2 separate regions of the Homo sapiens genome follow, and region 2 is linked to region 1. The links are contacts of gene promoters, found by promoter capture Hi-C in blood cells and fetal thymus (Javierre and others, 2016). All regions are on one chromosome and are shown on one strand. The core of a region is centred on a gene start or on the middle of the fragment in contact, and the rest is flanking DNA. Distances in the headings are between cores, read along the strand shown.

Region 1 (7,612 bases), core at 4,921-7,420:
GCCAACATGGTGAAACCCCATCTCTACTAAAAATACAAAAATTAGCTGGGCATGGTGGTGCCCGCCTGTAGTCCCAGCTACTAGGGAGGCTGAGACAGGAGAATTGCTTGAAACCAGGAGGCGGAAGTTGCAGTGAGCTGAGATTGCACCATTGCACTCCAGCTTGGGCAACAGAGCGAGACTCTGTCTCAAAAAAAAAAAAAGAGGTTTAATTGACTCCCAGTTCCACATAGCTGGGGAGGCCTTAGGAAACTTACAATCATGGAGGAAGGTGAAGGGAAAGCAAAAGGCGGCAGGAGAGAGAGGAGTGTGTGAAGGAGAAACTGTCAAACATTTATACAACCCTCAGATCTTGTGAGAACTCACTATCTCAAGAATAGCATGGGGGAACCGCCCCCACGATCCAGTCACCTCTCACCAGGTCCCTCCCTCCACACATGGATATTATGGGGATTACAATTTGAGATGAGATTTGGGTGAGGACACAGGCCCAAACTGTGTCATGGACTCTCTGCAGAGCCTCTCAACAAGAATGCAGCTGGGCCGACATCCAAATTCTACCCTCAAAGAACCCTGAGTGGAGAATCCAGCCCTGCTGGGCTGCAGAACTGTGAGCCAATCAATGGGCGTTGCAGGCGGCAATATTTGGGGTAACTTGTTATGCAGCAACAGAAAGTGAGTACAGGTGTCTGTGATTTGGGATCTTTCTGAAGCAACCTGAGCAGTTGCTGAAAACTGGGACATAAGCCTCGTCACTGCCAGCGCTTCTAAACCTCATTTGCTTCACAATAAACAGCAATAGCTACTTAGGAAGCAACTTTTTGGTACCAGGTACTAGACCTACATTATGAGTAAGAGGAAAAGTTCACCTCGACACTCCGGGGGTTTAGTGTTATTTTTCTGGCTTTCCTCACCAGGAAGCTCAGAAAGTCATTATTGACTCAGATCACCCACCAGCTAAGTGCTGGAACAAACACGGAAAGCCAGGCCTCCTGCCTCCAGGGTTTCAGCCGTTACCCCAACACCCTGTTGCCTCCAAGTTTACCTGACTGTGTTCAAAATCATTGCAGCTTTCTCGGCCAACAAGCTCATTAAAAGATGCTCACCGTTGTTAGTTGTTAGGGAAATGCAAATCAAAACCACAATGAGATGCCATCTCACACCCACTGTGCTGTCTATAATCAAAAAGTCAGACAATAGCAAGAGCTGGAGAAGATGTGGAGAAATTGGAGCCCTTGGATGCTATCCATGAAAATGTAAAATGATTGCAGTGCCTGTCTCCCAACTAAGTTAAGCATAGAATTGCCACATGACCCAGCCATTCCATTCCTGGGTTTATACCCAAGAGAAATGAAAGCATATGTCCACACAAAGACTTGCATGTGAATGTTCATAGCATTCCTATTTCTAATAGCCAAAAGGTGGAAATAACCTAAGTGTCCACCAACTGAGGGAGGGATACATAAATGTGGCCCATCCATACAGTGGAGTATTACTCAGCCAGGAACAAAGCACTGACACACACTACAATGTAGATGAACCTTGAAAACACTGTGCTCAGTGACAGAAGCCAGACACAAAGATCACCGATGATATGATTCCGTGTATAGAAAATGACCCAGATAGGCAGATCCATAGAGACTGAAAGAAGACTGATGGTTGCCAGAGGCTGGTGGGACATGGAGGAACTGTGGGGTGCTAGCTGAAGTATATGGGCTTTCTTTTGAGGTGATAAAAGTGTAGTAAAATTGACCATGTTGATAGTTGCACTACTGAATATTGTAAAAGCCATTGAATTGGACACTTTACGTGGTTACTATGGTGGATGAATTATATCTCAATAAAGCTGTTACCAAAAAATAAAAAAAATCATTGCTGCTGAAACGTAGCCCCCACACTGTCCTGTTCCCTGCTGTTTGGCTGTGGATGTAGCAGCTCCCTCGACAGATGCCATCCGTCAAAGTAGGGAGGCTTTGAGGAGCCCCCTCACCCCCATCCTGCAGAAAGACTCCCTCCAGGACCCCCTCTGAGTGTCCCTGGGAGCCTGTGCTCCTCCTCTGCTTCCAGGTCTGCAAGTGGGCAGCCTGCAACCTCCAGGATCTGATGTTCTTGACCTTGTCCTCACAGGGAGGGTCGCCCTGAGGACTTACGGGCCTGGATGAAATGGGTTTTTTTTTGTTTGTATGTTTTGTTTGTTTTTTTGAGACAGAGTTTGGCTCTGTTGCCCAGGCTGGAGTGCAGTGGTGTGATCTCGGCTCGCTGCAACCTCTGCCTCCCAGGTTCAAGCAATTCTCTTGCCTCAGCCTCCTGAGTAGCTGGGATTACAGGCACATGCCACTGTGCCTGGCTAATTTATTTTTATTTTTATTTTTATTTTTAATAGAGATGGGGTTTCACCATGTTGGCCAGGCTGGTCTCAAACTCCTGACTTCAAGTGATCCGCCCACCTCGGCCTCCCAAAGTGCTGGGATTACAGGCGTGAGCCACCACACTTGCCTTCTGGATGGAATGTTAACTGCTATTTTCTGAGGGTTAATCTCATGCAGGGCAAAGGACATTATCTCTGTGAACTGTGGTTATGGCCACACACAGGAGATATTCTGTGCACATTTTGCAGGCAGAGACTTTGGAGACCCTGCGGCAAAGAGGCTGAATGACACCCAAGGGGGCAGAGCCAGGGTAGAGACCCTGGGCTCTGACGCTGAGGTTCTTGCCGCTCTGTCCCATGGCTTCCTGATGGATTGGAAGTGACCACCAGAAGCTGGAGAGGGGCACAGAAGAGACATGCCTTCAGAGCCTCCAGGAGGAACCCACCCTGCCCACACCTTGATTCCTGACTTGTGGGTTTGTGATAGTTTGTTACGGCATCCACAGGGCACGAATCCTTCTGCAGAGTTAAAGGAAAGATGCTCCTGCACACTGTAAATGCTGATTAAAGCTATGTTTGCTTGTAGCTCTTCTAGAGTTACAAAAGCAAAGCAAACAGCCAGCCTCAGATAGTGCTTTGGAACAGGCCAGGTGAGGGGTGCCAGCAGGTGCCTCATGGTCCAAGTTTGGGGGAGCCACTGTGGCTGAGCGCTGGCCTGCGTGTGGTGGCAGTGCTGTGAGGCTGGGGCCAGCTGGCTCCCTTCTCAGGCCTTGTTCTCTTCTGCAAAATGAGGGGTTGGTCTTGATCATAATTACTCAAATTTAGTGTAGTAGATTGAGTAGTGGTCCCTCAAAAGATGTGTCCAAGCCCTACCCTCTGGTACCTGTGAAGGTGACCTATGTGGAAATAGGGTCTTTGCAGAGATAATTAAGAATCCCAGCCAGGCGTGATGGCTCTTACCTGTAATCCTAGTGCTTTAGGAGGCTGAGGCGGGCAGATCACTTGAGGTCAGGAGTTCAAGACCAGACTGGCTAAGATGGAGAAACCTTGTCTCTACTAAAAATACAAAAATTAGCGGGACGTTGTGGTGGACACCTGTAATCCCAGCTTCTCGGGAGGCTGAGGCAGGAGAATCTCTTGAACCCGGGAGGCGGAGGTTGCAGTGAGCTGAGATTGTGTTACTATACTCCAGCCTGGGTGACAGAGCCAGACTCCTTCTCAAAAAAAAGAAAAAAAAAGAAGAAGAATCTCGAGATGAGCTCATCTTGGATTCAGAGTGAGCCCTAAACCCAATGAATGGTGTCCTCATGAGATTAGCCAGACAGAAGGCAGGAGGGACAGACACAGGGGAGGAGAGCGCTGGGAGGATGGAAGTGGAGACTACAGAGAGGCTTCCATAGTCACGGGAGGCCAAGCATTGGCACGACCGTCAGAAGCTGGAGGCGGGCACAGAACAGACGTGTCCCCAGAGCCTCCAGGAGGAACCCACCCTGCCCACACCTTCCTTCCTGACTTGTGGGTTTGTGATACTTTGTTATGGCATCCACAGGGCACAAATCCTCCTGCAGAATTAAAGGAAAGATGCTCCTGCACGCTGTAAATGCTGATTAAAGCTACGTTTGCTTATAGCTCTTACAGAGTTATGAAGGCAAAGCAAATTTGTAAAGTTACAGCTCCAACACTGTAAAACCATTCAAACTAAAAACATGCTGTATGGGGACAGGTTCCACTGGGCTGCCTTGGCAGCCTGGGCTGAGGGGCCCAATGCTGGTGACTCACCTGCCCTCCCTCCCCTTTTCTCTCTGCCAAGCAGGAGCCACCTTTCTTCATGGCGGCCCTGCAGGCCCCAGGCTTGGTGTTGCGGGAAGAGCCTTTCATGAACAGGTCCATGTCGCTCTTTTCTCTCCAGCCCATGACAGAAGTGGAACACGGCCTGCACGGGTGGCACCAAGGCGGCATCATCAGGCTCTTCCCAATGTGAAGGAAGCTTTGACTCCATGGTGAACCCTTTATTGGGGGCTGACTCCAGGCCCGGCTATGGTTGTATTTTACAGAACTTGCTGGAGACACCTGTCTTGCTGGGCTGATGGATTCAGAACCAATGATGGGAACGGGGTCAGGTCCTCCGTCCAGTGAGTGAGGAGGGATTCCAGATGAGCCTCTGGACCCTCTTCCTATGCGCAGATGGCTTGTATCCTGAAGATGGAAACAGCCTGCTTCTTCACCGTCGAGACCCTGATGGAGGAAGGTGCTCCCCAGTGAGGCCGAGGGCCCCCTTTTCAGACATACAGTGGCACCTTGTTCCTCTGGGCTGGGTCTTTGCGGTAGGCCAGTGTTGTTGTCGTGGGCACCTAAGTTGTGGGCACTGGAGGGATGGAGGCCTTTAGGCTGCACCAAGTTACCTGCCTCGGCTTCTGGTTCCTCAACTATAAAACCAGATGGTCAGAGTAGGGAGCCTCGAGGGTCCCGTCCAGGTCTACAGGTGGATAACCTGTGCGCAGAGGCCACACTGTGAGAGAAGACCTGGTGGAGGATGTTTCCCGTGTCACAGCTGCAAGTAGGAAGAGTGTGAATCCCTGTGAATCGGCAGAGAAGAGCAAGGGGAGGGTTCAGGTGTAGGTGGGGGCGGGAGGGAGGATTAGGGGGAGGTGGTGTCAGTTTCCCAAGGCTGCTGTAATGAATATCCACAGACTTGGAGGCTTAAACAACACACACTGTCTTATGGTTCTCAAAATCAGAATGCTGAAATGGGTCTTGCGGGGTAAAATCTGTGAACAGTCATTTCTTCCCTCTCCAGGCCCTGATGGGGGAAGGGGCTCCTGGGCCAGTGTCAGCAGGGCCGGGTTCTTCTGGAGGCTCAGGGGAGAAGCTGCCTTCCTGTCTTTTCAGCTTCCAGAGGCCGCCTGCACGCCTCAGGGTCCCCGCAGCAGACCACATCACTCCAACCTTCGCTTCATCCTTGCATCTCCTCCTCCGCCTCCCTTCCTCCCTCTCATAAGGACCCTAGGATGACACTGGACCCCCCGACTGACCCAGGAGAATCTCCGCAACATGTGGGGAGGTGGAGTGATTGTGCAAAGCAGAGTGAGGTGGTGTTGCTGGAAGACTCGAATCACATCTGCAGGATCTCTGCGGAAGCTCTGGGGATAAGATTTGGCATCTTTGCAGTGGCCGTTATTCTGCCCACCGCAGGGGCCCCCATCTGATGATAGAGAAAAGGCACATAGAAGATGCTCGGAAACACGTGTTGAGTGAAAGAGTGAGTGGCTGTGTGGAGCCGAGACTAGGTTGGTCTGTGCAGGAGGTGTAACAAGAGCTGCATCTTGTATTTCTGCCTGCCTTCCTGCCTCTGCCATTGACTGGAGGTCAGCAGGTCTGACAGTTCCAGAAATAGAACTTCTGCTCTGATCTGATCCACACGAAGGTGAAGGTCAGGTGCAGGATCCTCCGCCCCCACCTTGTGGTTTCTGGGGGTGCTGAGCCAGGGCCCCACCTCTGCCCTGGGGGACACCCCCTGCCAAGTTTGCTTGGAGGCTCCTTTGAGCTCAGGCACGCCCAAGAGCCAGAAGGAGAGGACTTGTAAAGACAGGGACTGTAACCCCAGGCAGGCCTGTGTCCTGGCCCTTAGGGAAGGAATAATGAGTAGACTATTGTGTAAGAAAGATGAGAATCAGGCAGATAAAGGGCCCAGTGAAGCTGCCTGCCCCACTCCCTACCCCCAGGACTGAACCTTGGACCCCACCTAACATTCCAGCTCCACTGCGGTGCCCTGGTCTCCATGACAACCGGGAATCATTTTACAAATAGAAGATTGTGGATCCCTGGGAACGCAGAGGTGAGGAAGTCTCAGGAGTAAAGGTTTCATTTACGGCACCTTGGTGCGAAGGTGTCAGGCCAGGCCTTGGAGCCAAATTCTATGCAGAATGACCAAGTGCCGAGAGCAGAAAACACGGGCTATGTTCCTGACCCTTTGCCTGTTAGCCGTGTGGCTCTGGTTCTGGAGTGAAGGGAGCAGCAGGATGCTCTGGGCCTTAAGTGACAGAATTCCTAACTCTCTGAGACCAGAGCAAGGCTTTGGAAAGGCTGGAGGGAAGCCATTAAGTCGGTGAGGTTTTCCTGGCTTGCCCCATGGAGGCAAGATGGCTGCAGGGACTCCAGGCATCACGTCCATTGAGGACAACATCCAATGCACAAAGGAGGGCAGGTGGCAAAGGGGCTTCTCCTCTCACAGCTCTTTATCACAAACTGCTGCCTCCTCCAGCATCCCTCAAAGACCGCTTTGTTTCCCATCAGCAGGAATGCGTGGCAGGAAGGAATCTCCCAGGGATTCACAGTTCACCCCTAAATCAATCCGTGGGGCCCGAGGGGCAAAGTATCTGAGTGACCCAGCCCTCAGTCTTGTGTCCGTTCCTGAGAAGGAGCTCAGCCTTGCCCCTCAGGAGCTGCATGTACCAAATGTGAGTGTGTGTGTGCCTGAGTGTGCCTCTTCACCTCAGTGAGTGTGTCCATGTGTGAAAGCAGATGTTTGTATGTGCACAGGTGTGTGCTGTGTGCATACAAAGCGGGGGCAGGGCATGTGGGGATGTTGTACCTGAGCGAGTTAGAAAAACGCCACACTTTGAGATGAATTAGGAGTCCTCTATTAGCTGGCAACCAAGAGACAGCTAACGCTCAAAATTCTCTTGGCCCCGAGGAAGGGGCTTGATTAACTTTTACATCTTGGTTTAGGAAGGGGAGGGGGGTCTAGTTAGAACAATTTTACAGAAGTTAAGTAGTCAAAAAGTTAAAAGGACAAATGGTTACAGGAAAGTAAACAGTTCCAGGTGCAGGGGCTTTAAGACTATTACAAGGTGATAGACGCGGGGCTTCGGGCGTTATCATTCGGACAAATTCCTGGGAACTGCGGATCTAGCTCGCCACAGTATCTTATCAGTTAACTGCATTCTTGGATGTGCTGGGAGTCAGCTTGCACAAGTTAAGTCCTTGAGGAAGGGGCTGCCGGTGAAAGAGCCAAGATGGAGTTTGTGTGACTCTCTCAGCTAAGGGAGAAGCAAGGCTAGGTGAATAAAGGAAAAACAAGGTTGGGCATTACACGGAGGTGGAGTGATTGTGTAAAGCAGAGTGAGGTGGTGTTGCTGGAAGACATGGATGGAGGCATGACACAGACTGTCCACTGCAAAAACCATGGACGGAGGAGGCGTCACACAGACTGTCCACTGCAAAGACCACAGATGGAGGCGTGAC
Region 2 (7,133 bases), core at 3,651-6,150, 440 kb after region 1:
AACCCAGAGGAAGCTCAGGGCAGGGAAGAAAATACTGGATTTATTGCTGGGAGTTACGTATCCCCAACAGCTGTGATAGATTCCAGCCACTGATGCAACCTGAGGTTCGCTGGCAGCACTAAGCAGCGTGGCTATGTTCTGCCTTCCACATTCCGCAGATGTGGCTAACAGGGTGACACCAAGAGCCCAGGGAGCCTGCTCACGTCTGAAAGCCGTGGTTTCTGCTCTGCAGCCTCACCTGGGGAGCTTACTGAAATGCAGATTCCCTGTTCCCTCCTGCACTGACCCTGAATGGGGCTGGGTGTGCTCCAGGACAAGATGGACCTTCCGGGGACGTGGAGCCTGGGGAGCAGGGCTCCCACGCTGACAGCAGTGAGACAGGAGGGAGCTCCTTTCCTGGAAGTCTCTGACAGAAGACATTCTGGAGAAAGAAGCTGTCGGATGTTCGGAATGCATGGGCTGGGCTGGCTCAGCAGAGCTGGCGGAAACGGTGAGGGCCCAGCTGCCGTGCCCCTCAACGACACTGTCAGGTAACTGCTGCCAGGAGCCTTCCAGATGCTCAGACCCCAGAAGCCACTTTACCGGCCCCCTTTGGCCTCAGTTGCTTGACCCTCCCCTACAAATTTCCAGGTGCATGACCTTGAACCTGCCTGTGTCCTGCGTGGGCCTTGAGGCATCTCTAGTTTGATTAGGACAGACGTGTTTTACACATGGCTGTCAAGCAAGTTTCTCTTGGCCTAATTGTTCCTCTGGCAAATAATCAATCCTGAGAAGTTCCTTTACAAAATACCTAAAAAGTAGACTGTGCCAAAAACGTGGGGTGAAATGAGGTGCCCACGGCATCCTGGGGACGTTCTTGGCTGATGCGGACCTCCGTGCCCCACTGCCAACTGAGGGGTGGGACCTCTCTTCTGGCTCCTTCTTGCCCTGCCCTCTTTTCAGATTCTGGAACTTCCCAGGTCCCAGCCATCCTGTACTCTCCATCCGTTGAATGAACCAATCCTTGCTCCGCGTGGGCAACACCCGGGCCACCCAGCCACAGTCTCTCTTTGTCAAAGCTGTCACTTACACATGACTCCCGCTTGAATATTCCTGAAGTTTGGAATTGGTGGATCTGCAAAATAAATCACATCTCCAATGGATTCAGCCACTTTAAGGGGAAAAGAAATCTAAGGATGGCTGGAATGAAACTGCATTTTCTTTCCTTTTTTGAGACGGAGTCTTGCTCTGTTGCCCAGGCTGGAGTGCAGTGGCGCAATCTTGGCTCACTACAACCTCTGCCTCCCCGGTTCAAGCGATTCTCCTGCCTCAGCCTCCAGAGTAGCTGGGATTACAGACAGGCATCACCATCGTTGGCTAATTTTTTGTATTTTTAGTAGAGACGGGGTTTCACCATGTTGTCCAGGCTGGTCTCAAACTCCTGACCTCAGGTGATCCACCTGCCTCGGCCTCCCAAAGTGCTGGGATTACAGGCACGAGCTACCGTGCCTGGCCTAAACTGCATTTTCTAAAAAAATATGTACTGCTTATTTTGTTAGCATACTTTTAATTATATTCTTATTCTTTCTACCCCTCTCAAAATGTATTTTTCCAGCTTGCCATTTAATTGGTAAACAGCTGTAAAGTTCAAACGTGAAATTCTTAAAGCTCCCTAGAGACATACACAATAACTTCTGTGGCATGGACTTTTCTCGGCATTAAAAAAATCTAGTACCTCTCTTGGCCAGAACCCCTAATTTTACACTTTATGGTGTTGCGTCGTTTTTCAAAAAAAACAAAACAACAACCAAAAAACTTACTGGCAAGTTTTTCCTCCAAACAGTTTTCTAATCAAGTCTAATAAGTTTGTGCAAGAGAAAACACATGGGGATTCCACTCCATTATTTGATTTCCACTAATCAGGATAAAGTCTGTGAAATTCAATTACTGTTGTTTGTGGAACAGACTGTTGAACAACGATTTATTCCCAATGATATCGAGTGGCACTAGTCCAGAACTTAGAACTGAACCACACGTGGCAGCTCCACCAAGCAGGGACAGGGAAAGAGGAATTTAACAAGTTTGCACCCGGCGTATTAAATAATTAAATCCCTCTTCACCTCTTAAATGAAATGATGGAATCCCCAACTCACAATTGCTTTTCAAAATCTATTACCCAAAGCACTGCGGAGTCACTAATGCTGTCTTCCTGGGAACTACTTTCACAATTTTGAACAGTAACTGACCCCAAATTTATCTCCAACCAAAACCTCTGTGTTTCACCATGAATCAGGCAAGGTCCTTCCAAGTGTTCAGAAGTGGAACCTGTTGTGGAAAAACACTCCCCTCGGTCACACACAGGGCATCTGTTTCTTGAGTGCTAAGTACTTGGTTTTGGTTCAGGAGAAATACAAAATAGTGTACAGTATATGCTGGGAGATCGGACACCAATCACTTGTGGCTCTTTCAAATTCCCAAGAATAAAAATAGAATTGGTCCCCATCTTGTTTCTTGCTATTTTTAATAAATGGTTTCAGTTACTGAAGGCAGGATTTATTTCAGACTTCCAAAGAAGTTATCAAGGAAATAAAGCAGCATCTATTCATTTCCCATCAGACTTGACAAGGTTTCTGATAACAACCTAATGCTAAGTTGCACCTTTTCAGGCAAGGACCGTCTTCCAGAATTTTCCACAGTGTATTACAAGGTAAAAATGACACCCTCAAAGGGTTGTTAATTCCTTTCCTGTTCCAAGCAAACCTCCTTGAAAGCTTGCCAAGCTAAGCATCAATTTGCATAACTGGAGGAGGTGGGTGTCACTAACAGGGTTTTGACTGGAAGTCCGATTCTCAGCAGCAAGACATGCCAGAAAAATGTCCCACATTCAATTGTCTATCTCATTCTTGTTGCGAAGTTATGCTTTTGTAGTTTCAGTATTTTCATCAAAATGTCACATCCAATGACATGCGATATGAAAAGATAAAGAAATCTGATATGAAATACAGAGCATGACGGCAAACTTCATTCACCTACTCTACCTGGAAACCTCACTTGTTACTTTCCTGTATTTTAAGAACTATGCCTGTTCATCTGCTGCAGGAGGAAGCTCCCCGCCTCTGAAACCTAACACAATACAACGGAACAGAAGATGCCTGTATGAAGAAATAAGCAGGAAAACTAATCAGGGCATGTCTGCGATTCCCTCCTCTTATTTCAGGGCTTTGAATTTTTCACAGCAAGGGTGAAGGCACAATCTAGGGGTGTTGGCTTCACTCCTGTGCAAAGCGGCCCACAAAACAGCAACCACGGAAAAAGCCAATGGGATGAGAATTGGACTTCCAGACATCTCTCCGTGTGAAATGCATTCTGAGATTATGAGTTTTCAACAAGCTGAGAGCGGATGTGACAACGGGCCCTGATACAAGAGCCCCCTCCTCCCGTTCCGTGCCGTCATGTTCTTTCCAAGAGGCTGCAACTCAAATCTTCTCTAGTGAAAACAGCACAGAAGGTTCTTCTGGCTGCTGGAGAGTCTTCCAGGACACCATGACAAGCCGACGTGGCCTCCACGTCTCTTTGGCAGAGTCCTATATTTCTCAGTATGGTGGTGACCCGGGGACCCAGGGAGCAGAGCAGATGGCTGAAACATCCACACGTAGCCTACTGTGAATACAAACGATACTTCTGCAGGAGGGGACACTTAGCACTTTTGGTGGAATTCTGTAATATAGCCAACCCACCCCAAAAAAATGCAAAGGGAACACTGAACTTGGCACACAAGCAGGAGAGAGGGGATACTGTCTTTTAACTCTTCTCCTAATGACATCAGGTCATATAAGGCTATGTCAAGGAAACGGCTTCCACTTTTCTTTGGCAAAGGCCTCGATAAGTGACAGAAAGTAGGGACTGCCCCCCGAAATAAGGCTACCACTGCACAACTGTTACCAAAGATTAAACACCCCCAAAGGAAGAAGCACAGAGGTCAACTGCTGAACAATTTAAGCTGATTGGATGGGTATGCTTGAGGCTAACCAGTTCTGCAAAGGGAAACACACGGTTTCGAAGCACGGGGATAAGTAGACGTTACCTTGTGTCTTCTGCACATCTTGCATCTTCCTTCCCTGACAGCTGGTCAGAAATAGGGGCATCAGGCCATTTCCCTGTTTCCCAACAGGGTAATAGCCAACCTACTTCCAGAGAAGATTTGGAAAAAGAGACAACTAAGCTAGTGAAATAGAATAGTTTTTTCTCATCAAAACATGATTTATTAATTTTAAGCAAGAGTAAGCATATGTGATAGTGGCCAGCTTGGGGATAGAACTCTTCCTGGTTGATGCACAGTTCAGCACCTGTTGGGTCTTGGCTGTTGGGATGATAATTCTTTTGGGTGAGGGGAACAGCCGTGGTCAAGGCTGCCTGCACCCCCATCCAGGCACAGGACCCTGGGCAAAGTCTCAAAAGAGGTAGTGTTTTTACTTTCGCACCAACAATACAACATAAGTATTGGGTACAAAAGAGGAGATTTCCTTCCCCTCTACCTCAACGGGCAAAAGGCCTTCCATCTTCAGAAGAGGCTTGTGAGGACCATCGGTTGATGACCTCCTAGTGAATTCTGGCTCCCATTCAGAGCACAGAGAAACCCACAAAAGGGGCCTGTGGCTCTGGTTCCAGGTCTCAAGGGTACAGCTTGGTTACATCCCCAGGCCCCAGGCTGATTCTCCTGCCATCATACTGCAAGCCTTCCTGTACCACTTTGACCCAGGTTGAGGTCTGGCGGAAAATAACCTCAAAGGCAATTAATACAAAAAGCTTCCTGTAAGCTAAGAGGGGTTATCAACTATATGTACTTATTTTTCCAGAGATTGAAGAGAGAAGAGAACGAGCCAAGGCTTGGTTTTGTTTTATGTTGGTGGCACATGTAGACACTTTGGCATAACGAACCCCATAGAGCCTGCAGCCCAATCCACTCTGTTTTGGTTTAGAATGAAGTTTTTTTTTTAATTATTTTTCTTGGAAGTAGGGAGGATTTGAAAGCTTGAAAATCAAGAATCAAAAGACAGTGAATCTAGAAGGCATCTGGGAGCAGAACAGAGATTGAAGACGGGTGGGCACAGGAGAAAGCGCCACCATCGATCCCGGCTGCTGCCCTGGAAATGTGATTTTCTTAATAGCTGAGTTCATGGTTGCTTGAGGTCAGGCCTGGCTATTCATTTCCAGCGATGTCTGACCAGAGAGGACTCATCATTGACGACCTCAGGGTCACGGGGGCGACGCTGACACCGGAACGGCAGCAGCAGCAGGACGATTAAGACAAGGAGGATGGCTCCACAGACGCTCATGAGCGCATAGGACACAATCCACAAAATGGGCTCGCTCAAAGACTGAGCGGGGACACAGTTGCTGGCTACATCCTCTGTTGAGAAAGGCCCGGAAATTTCAGACACTGCAGCACCTGCAATTTCTGGGGAGACAGAAAGGGAAAATCCACAGCTGTGAAATGAGCGGTCCACCTCTCACATTGGACACAGACAGAACCCCTTGGTTTATTAAACCACAGTTAAAGTCCACTGAGGTCCCAGTGGCTTAGACAGCTCAGGAAGCACTGAGTGGGGTCACGGCTCAGCGTGCCTTTGGGGGTCCAGTCCCTGCAAACTGGAACGACGGCATGTTTTAAGGTGTGTGGGTACCGAGCCTAGGTGTGGAGGGGAACTGCAGCAGGGCACATATGGAAGCACCCTGTGCTTCATGGAATGCCAGCGACACTGCGGTACTACACAGGTGAGAGTGCAGGTCAGCACCTGGTCATGACAGCTGTGTGGGTTGTGCTTCCTCAGTGGAGATGAAAAAAGAGGAGAAAGAGAAGGAGAATTTACCGCAGAAAGCTCAGCTGGACCTGCCTACGTCATGGGGAATTTTCCCCAGTGGAGTCAACCTGAGTTCACTCCCTACCATGGATTCTACAACAGATAGGGACCTCATATCAACCTGACTCATAGTCTTAGTGGGTTGTGAGACCTCCGGGGGTCAGGCTGGCTTGAGAGACCCTCCCTGCCCCACTCTTATCCTAGGTCTCATCAACAGCCAGGAGCAGTAAGTGAATGCAACACCTAATTCATGACATCACTGGTGACAAAGAGAAACAGTTAAAATTCACCCGGTGACTTCTGCTAGAGACTCTTGAATAACTTCAAACCAAGAAGGAAGTTGAGATGATTTCTTAAAGCCGGTTTGTGGATTATCTGTAGACTTCCTTTGCCTACACTAGGCTTCTCTGCCCCTTTCAGGAATATGGGATCTTAAGCTTTACTTGCAATACGGAAAAGAAATAGGCCTCATTACCCATTTTTCCTATATTTAATCACAGAAATGAATATTTTGGCACCAGAAAATAACACTGCTAAGAATTTGATTTTTCTGTAACTAAAGCCTCAAGATCTTCAGAGCTGCCAAATAATACCCTTTTTGACTGAGGAAAGAAAAAGTCAAAATAACAATGCGATAATGACCTGAAAAGAATGGTTTTAAAATCAGAGGAAAACAGGCTTGATTACTTTGCAAAGTGACTGCATTTTCTTGCTAATGTGGATTCTGTCATAATATGGCTTTCCTAAGTGCACTGAAAAAGAAAGGCAATGAACAAGAGCCTGCCAACACCGAGAACAGAGGGATGCACCCTGCAGTCAATCTATACTCCCATTTCCTGGTTTGTAGATAATGATCTTCTTGCTGTGTCTTTACATGGTGGAAGAGACAAGGGAGCTCTCTTGGACTGTCTTTAATAATGGGCAGTAATTCCATTTACAAAGAAAAGCTCTGCCCTCGTGACCTAATCACCTTCCAAAGGCCCCAACTCCAAATATCATCACCTTGGAGATTAGGTTTCTGTTGCGGGAAGTCAGGGACCCCGAACGGAGGGACTGGCCAAAGCCATGGCAGAAGAACATAAATTGTGAAGATTTCAGACATTTATTAGTTCCTTAAATTAGTACTTTTATAATTTCTTACGCCTGTCTTTACTGCAATCTCTGAACATAAATTGTGAAGATTTCATGGACATTTATCACTTCCCCAATCAATACTCTTGTGATTTCCTATGCTGTCTTTACTTTAATCTCTTAATCCCATCATCTTCCTAAGCTGAGAATGTATGCCACCTC

Evidence for each region. The method cuts DNA at HindIII sites, captures the fragments that hold promoters and counts their contacts. A CHiCAGO score of 5 or more calls a contact.
Region 2: a fragment that was not itself captured here is called in contact with the fragment with the promoter of LINC00479 in region 1 in 7 of 17 cell types (non-activated CD4 T cells, total CD4 T cells, naive CD8 T cells and 4 more); the score reaches 8.3 in non-activated CD4 T cells.

Annotation. Positions count from the first base shown.
Region 1 is chr21:41,714,333-41,721,944 of GRCh38, reverse strand. It overlaps LINC00479 (long intergenic non-protein coding RNA 479), which reads left to right and starts at 6,170. Exons shown (of 6, transcript NR_027272.1): 1 at 6,170-6,203; 2 at 6,662-6,825; 3 at 7,593-7,612. LINC00112 (long intergenic non-protein coding RNA 112) reads right to left here and starts at 5,509. Exons shown (of 3, transcript NR_024028.2): 1 at 5,401-5,509; 2 at 4,771-4,944; 3 at 4,363-4,603. The HindIII fragment of the contact is 7,368 bases long and covers 4,358-7,612 here.
Region 2 is chr21:41,273,675-41,280,807 of GRCh38, reverse strand. It overlaps BACE2 (beta-secretase 2), which reads right to left. Exons shown (of 9, transcript NM_012105.5): 9 at 1-5,437. The coding sequence ends at 5,184. Among named protein-coding and RNA genes, the nearest start is that of FAM3B, 40 kb to the left of the region's middle. RefSeq lists enhancers at 1-416, 417-972, 5,036-6,235. The HindIII fragment of the contact is 225 bases long and covers 4,788-5,012 here.